Linked DNA regions of Homo sapiens: region 1 is linked to region 2. Evidence: promoter capture Hi-C in 16 types of primary human blood cells and fetal thymus (Javierre and others, 2016). All regions are on one chromosome and are shown on one strand. Each heading gives the region's core, a stretch centred on a gene start or on the middle of the fragment in contact. The rest is flanking DNA. Distances are from core to core; before and after follow the strand shown.

Region 1 (2,794 bases), core at 178-2,677, 1.4 Mb after region 2:
AACCATCCTTTAAAAATGAAAGAGAAATATAGACTTTCTGAGATAAACAAAAGATGAGGAGTTTGTTAGCACTAGATCTGCCTTTCAAGAAATGCTAAAGTCCTTCAAGTTGAAACAAAAGGATACCAAACAGTAACATGAAAGCATATGAAAGTACAAAGCTTGCTGGTAAAGGTAAATATATAGAAAAACACAGAATACTGTAATATTATAATGGCAGTGTGTAAATAACTTTTAATTCTGGTTATAGAAGTTAAAAGACAAAAATGTGAAAAATAAGTCATATATCACTTAACAATGGGGAAATGTTATGAGAAATACATTGCTAGATGATTTTTTCATTGTGCAAACATTTTTGAATATATGTACACAAACCTAGATAGTATAGCCTACTACACACCTAGGCTATATGGTATAACCTATTGCTTGTAGGTTGCAAACCTATACAGCACGTTAGTGTACTGAATACTGTAGACAATTGTAACACAATGGTAAATATTTGTGTATGTAAACATAGAAAAGGTGCAGTGAAATAGGATATAAAAGATTTGAAATGGTACACCTATGTAGAACATTTACTGTGAATGAAGCTTGCAGGACTGGAAATTGCTCCAGATGAGCCAGCGAGTGAGTGGTGAGCGAATGTAAAGACCTAGGACATTACTGCACACTACTGCACACTTTATAAACACTATGCACTTAGACCACACTAAGTTTATTTTTTTTAATTTTCTTTCTTCAATAATAAATTAACTTGAGTTTACTGTAATTTTTTTACTTTGTAAACATTTAAATTATTTTAATCTTTTGACTTTTTTGTAATAACACTTAGCTTAAAATATAGGTTATAGAGCTGTACAAAAATATCTTCTTTCTTTATATCCTTATTCTATATGGTTTTTCCTATTTTAAAATTTTTTATTTCTATTTTTTACTTTTAAACTTTTTTGTTATTGTTAAAAATAGAGACAGAAACACAGACATTAGGCTAGCACTAGACAGGGGCAGGATCATCAATATCACTGTCTTCTATCTCCACATATTGTTCCACAGTCTTTAAGGAGCAATAACTTGCATGGAGTTGTCATCTCCTATGATAACAATGCCTTATTCTAGAATATCTCCTAAAGGACCTGCTTGAGTCTCTTGAGAAAGTGTCACTATTTTCAGAAATATGACCTTGGCGGTTTGCTTGCTTTGTTTCTTTTTTCATCATAGATTTGCTCGTACGCAGATAATGCAACATGAGCATTCTTTTCTATTAATGAAAACCTTTTGGTGTTGGGGATCCATGTTTTTAGTCTTTTCAAGAAGCTTGTTAAGGTCTGAAAAAGCTTCTGCTAAACTCTTTATTGTTAATTTTTTGGGGGGTTCTTCTTCTTTTTCTTTGCCTGCACTTTCCTTTCCTTTTGCCTCCTCTTCAGCTATGCCTTCCTGTTTCAGTTCCAACAACTCATTAGTCAATTCTTCAGGACAATTGCATTAGGCAATAGGAATTTTTCAGCTTCATTATAAGCTTATGGGATCACCATTGTATATGCAGTCTGTTGTTAACCAAAATGTTATTATGCAACAATAACTATGTAACTATAAAATATGTTAATGAATACACAAAATTTAAAAATGTAATTGGTGACATCAATAACATAAAATTGTGTGTGGAGAAATAACAGTGTAGAGTATTTGTATGTGATTGAAGTTAAGGTGTTATCAGTTTAAAAGAGATTGTTATAGCTATGTTTTATGCGAGCCCCATGGTAATCACAAAGAAAATACTTCTAGAAGATACACAAAACAAAATGATAAAGGAATTAAAGCCTATTCACTATGAAAAATTAATGAAACACAAAGGAAGACAGCAAGAAAGGAGAAACAGGACCAAAAAAAGCTTTAAGACAGAAAACAATAGAATGGTAATAGTTCTTCTCTAGTATTAACTACTTTAAATGTAAATATATTAAATTCTGTAATCAAAAAGCATAGAGTGGCTGAATTGATTAAAAAAAAACAAGCTCCAACTACATGCTATCTATAAGAAACTCACTTTATTTTATTTATTTATTTTTTTGAGACGGAGTCTCGCTCTATTGCCCAGGCTGGAGTGCAGTGGCACAATCTCAGCTCACTACAACCTCCGCCTCCTGGGTTCAAGTGATTCTTCTGCCTCAGCCTCCCAAGTAGCTGGGACCACAGGGGTGCGCCACCATGCCCAGCTAATTTATATATTTTTAGTGGAGACGAGGTTTCACCATGTCCGCCAGTCTGGTCTCAAACTCCTGACCTCAGGTAATCCACCTGCTTGGCCTCCCAAAGTGTTGGGATTATAGGCGTGAGCCACCACGCCTGGCAAGGACTCACTTTAGATTTAAGGACACACGTAGGTTGAAAGTGAAAGTTTAGAAAAAGATATTCCATGAAAATGATAACCAAAAAATGGCAGGAGTGGCCATACTTATATCGGACAAAATAAACTTTAAGTCAAAATATCAAAAGAGACAAAGAAGGACATGATATAATGATAAAAGGATCAATTCTTCAGGAAGATATAATAATTATAAATATATATGCACATCAGGGTACCCAAATATATGAAGCAAACATTGACAGAACTAAAGGGGGAAATAGACAGCAAAACAATAATAGTAGGGGATTTTAATGCTCCACTTTCAATAATGGATAGAACACCAGACAGATCAATGAGGAAAAAAAGAACTTGAACAACACTATGGACCAAGTGGATCTAACATACATATACAGAACATTCCATCCAACAGCAACAGAATACATATTCTTC
Region 2 (2,986 bases), core at 212-2,711:
TTCTCTGTCACTTCCTGACCTTGTCATCACTTAAGTTACTGTTTCAAGTCTGGCTGAAATGTGGCAGGAGCTAACCACAGAACTGAAAGGGTCACTATTGTGATAGATGCAGTGGGGGCTCACAACGGTCCTGTAGCAGATCCCCAGTATCTTCTCCCTGGGGATCAGGTGGGGTCACCTTTGTTCTGCAGGGAGGGGACAGGATGCTAACAGCAGTTGAGAGCTGGAAGCAACATTGAAGCCTGCCTCATTAGAGAGGAGCAAACCAAGGGACAGAGAGGAGAAGTGACTTTCCCATGATCACACAGCCAGTCAAGCAGCAGAGGTGAGAAGAGCCCCTCTGGATCCACTAGAGTTCGCACTCAAGATCCTCTGCATTTTAATGCAGATGTTATAAGTATTGATTAAGAGCTTGGAATTTGGAGATAGATGGCTGGGCATGAGGCTTCACCTCTCAGGACCTCAGTGGTCTCATCTATAAAAGTCCTATAACAAAGCCTACCCATTGTGAGGATTAAAAACCACACTGCCTGTAGAGTGCTTAACACAGAACCTAGCACATTATCAGCTTCCACAACAGGTGGTCCTAAAAGATCATTATTTGCGATTCAAGGAAACACTGCCAACCTTTTTCTATACCTACAGTTCCGATCTGAACCTCCCTCTGCGAACCCCTTATGCCACGCTGTGGCTCGTCAGTCAAGGCGCCGAGAAGCCCTGGTGCCAGGGCAGGGCGATCCTCGGGGCTCACCTGGCGACACCAGCAGCACCTTCGCCCCGCAGCACTGGAAGCAGTGCAGCAGGGACTTCGCGCGGATGTTGTAATTGAGGCACGCCATGGCACAGCCCAGCTTCACCAGCCCCAGCCACAGCCACACGTAGGCCGGCTCGTTACCCATAAGGAGCGCCACGCAGTCTCCCTGGCGCAGGCCGAGGTGGTCGTGCAGCGCCCGGGCCACTTGATTGCTGCGCCGGTCCACCTGCGCGTAGGTGAGAGTCTCGTCGCGGAAGAGCAGAAAAGGCTTGTGTGGCGTCTGGCGCGCTTTCTCCAGGAACGCCCGCAGGATGGTGCGCGCCGGCCGCCGCTTCCCGTAGCTGCGCACCCTCCGGCCCACGGCGGCCACCTTCAAGAAGTAGCCTATGTCCTGGAAGAAGTATGGGCAGCAGAGGTTCACCAGGAGCGGCAGGAACAGCAGTCCCGCCAGGACTGTGTAGATGGCGGAAAGCATGACGGCTGCGGGGCCCTCTGTCCCAGCGAGGGCAGAGGGTTCACCCCGGGCGTGCAGCGCGGCGACTGGGCGGGCTCCGGGCGGACTGGCGGGCTGCGCCGGGGCGCACGCGGCGGGACGCCGGGCTCGCGTGAGATGAAGGGGAAGACAGAGCTCCTCCGCTGCAGGTACCGCCGCGGGCTCCGGAGCAGGTGTAGTCGTATGCGCGTTGCCGGGGGTTCCGGGCAGGACTGGCCGGCTGAGCCCGCCCCCTTGTGGGGGGCAGCCACCTGCTCTCCCGGCCCTCCCACGCGGTCCTCCCGGGGCTGGGCAGGCTGCCCTGCGGCTCACCAGGAGCCTCGGCCACTTCCCAGCTCGAGTCTGGAGGTCTGGGGTCAAGTCTGGACCTCCTCGCGTTGTGACCGAAGTACTTTACCTCTAGGAGCCACGGTTTCTTTAAATGGTGATGAGACGCGCTTAGCGGACGTTGGGAATATTAAAGGAGATATTGCAGGCGTGGGGCTATTATTTGTTACCACTAATAGAATGGCTTATGGAGATGACACTGTTATTACCGATAAAGTGCCTTATAAATGTCAGACAGTCCTATTATTTATTAATAGCGGGTACCAGGTGCCACTGCCAAACCAGAATCTCATCTCTCCTTCCTGGTCCCAAGGGCTTTCCGCCTGGTCTCTCTTTGTTTCTCAGATTTGCTTCCCAGCCCGACTGCCAGGCGGTCTCCTGTAGCGAAGGCTTCAAGGTTGAACAGAAATGCCTGTGGCAGTCACGTCCAGCTCATCCCAAGCCCTGCCAGGTGAGTGAGGGCAGGACACTCTAACCTAGTCGGCCCTGCCTGGTCGGGGGAGTCCTGATTTCGTGAAGAGCAGTGCTACACCGCACCACCTGAAATCAAGCTTTGACATTATTTTACGATTTTGTTCTGTTAAGTGATCCTGCTGTTCCCTCATGTTGAAAGTTGTCAAGTGTTGTCAGCACAGTTCACACATTTAATAAGTGGCTCTGTCAGAGAATAGTATAGTACAGAGGACATTGAGTAAGTGGTATTGGCATGACTCAAAAACCATTTCTTTTAGAGGAAATGTGAACCTTTCTTTTAATTTGCCTTAGTGCTACTTCTGTACGAAGTGAATGCTCACTACTTGCCACTGAGGAGGGTCAGGATCTAAGTAGTGTTTTATTTTCATCCTCTACTGTCCTCCTGTGTTCCTCTATCTTAATTTGATACGATAAATACAGATAATGCTTATTCCTCCCAGACACGCTGCTAGGAGCTTCCCTATGTTACATTTTGGGAGCCTGAGTTATTTTATACAGGTGGCACTTTCATGCTCATTTACAGACAAGAAAGGGAAGCTTAGGTGAATTGAGACAGCCGGTAAGTAATTCGTGGGTTTTGGAAATGGTATCTGTTTGGTCCCGGGGAACCAACTCTTAGCTTATTCTTAGTAACTATACTATGCTGTCCTCCTATTCTCTAGGTTTCTGTCCATGTCCTCTTTTTTTTTCGGTGTGTGTAAAACACACAAAAATGTTTCACATTCCCTCCAGGCCACCCCCTGCCGTTTTTTAGCCTCCTTTTCGTATCCCTAGTAACTGCGCAAGCAACCTTTCCCTTTTCCTGACTTTTTCATTTCTGATCCAGCTACCTGGTTGCATCATTTCCCTGGGGATGAGCTGGGGGCCTTCATCATCCCTGAGGAGAAAGCAGTAGAATTAACCAAAGTGAGGGCCCGACAGAAACCATTCTCATGTGC

The links. The method cuts DNA at HindIII sites, captures the fragments that hold promoters and counts their contacts. A CHiCAGO score of 5 or more calls a contact.
Region 1: a fragment that was not itself captured here is called in contact with the fragment with the promoter of SLC27A2 in region 2 in 1 of 17 cell types (total CD8 T cells); the score reaches 6.8 in total CD8 T cells.

Annotation. Positions count from the first base shown.
Region 1 is chr15:48,829,193-48,831,986 of GRCh38, reverse strand. All of the region lies in intron 11 of SHC4 (SHC adaptor protein 4), which reads left to right. Among named protein-coding and RNA genes, the nearest start is that of CEP152, 20 kb to the right of the region's middle. The HindIII fragment of the contact is 182 bases long and covers 1,337-1,518 here.
Region 2 is chr15:50,180,671-50,183,656 of GRCh38, reverse strand. SLC27A2 (solute carrier family 27 member 2) reads right to left here and starts at 1,461. Exons shown (of 10, transcript NM_003645.4): 1 at 752-1,461. The coding sequence starts at 1,229. It also overlaps a transcript of ATP8B4 not described here. RefSeq lists silencers at 860-959, 1,230-1,569. The HindIII fragment of the contact is 4,085 bases long and covers 1-2,127 here.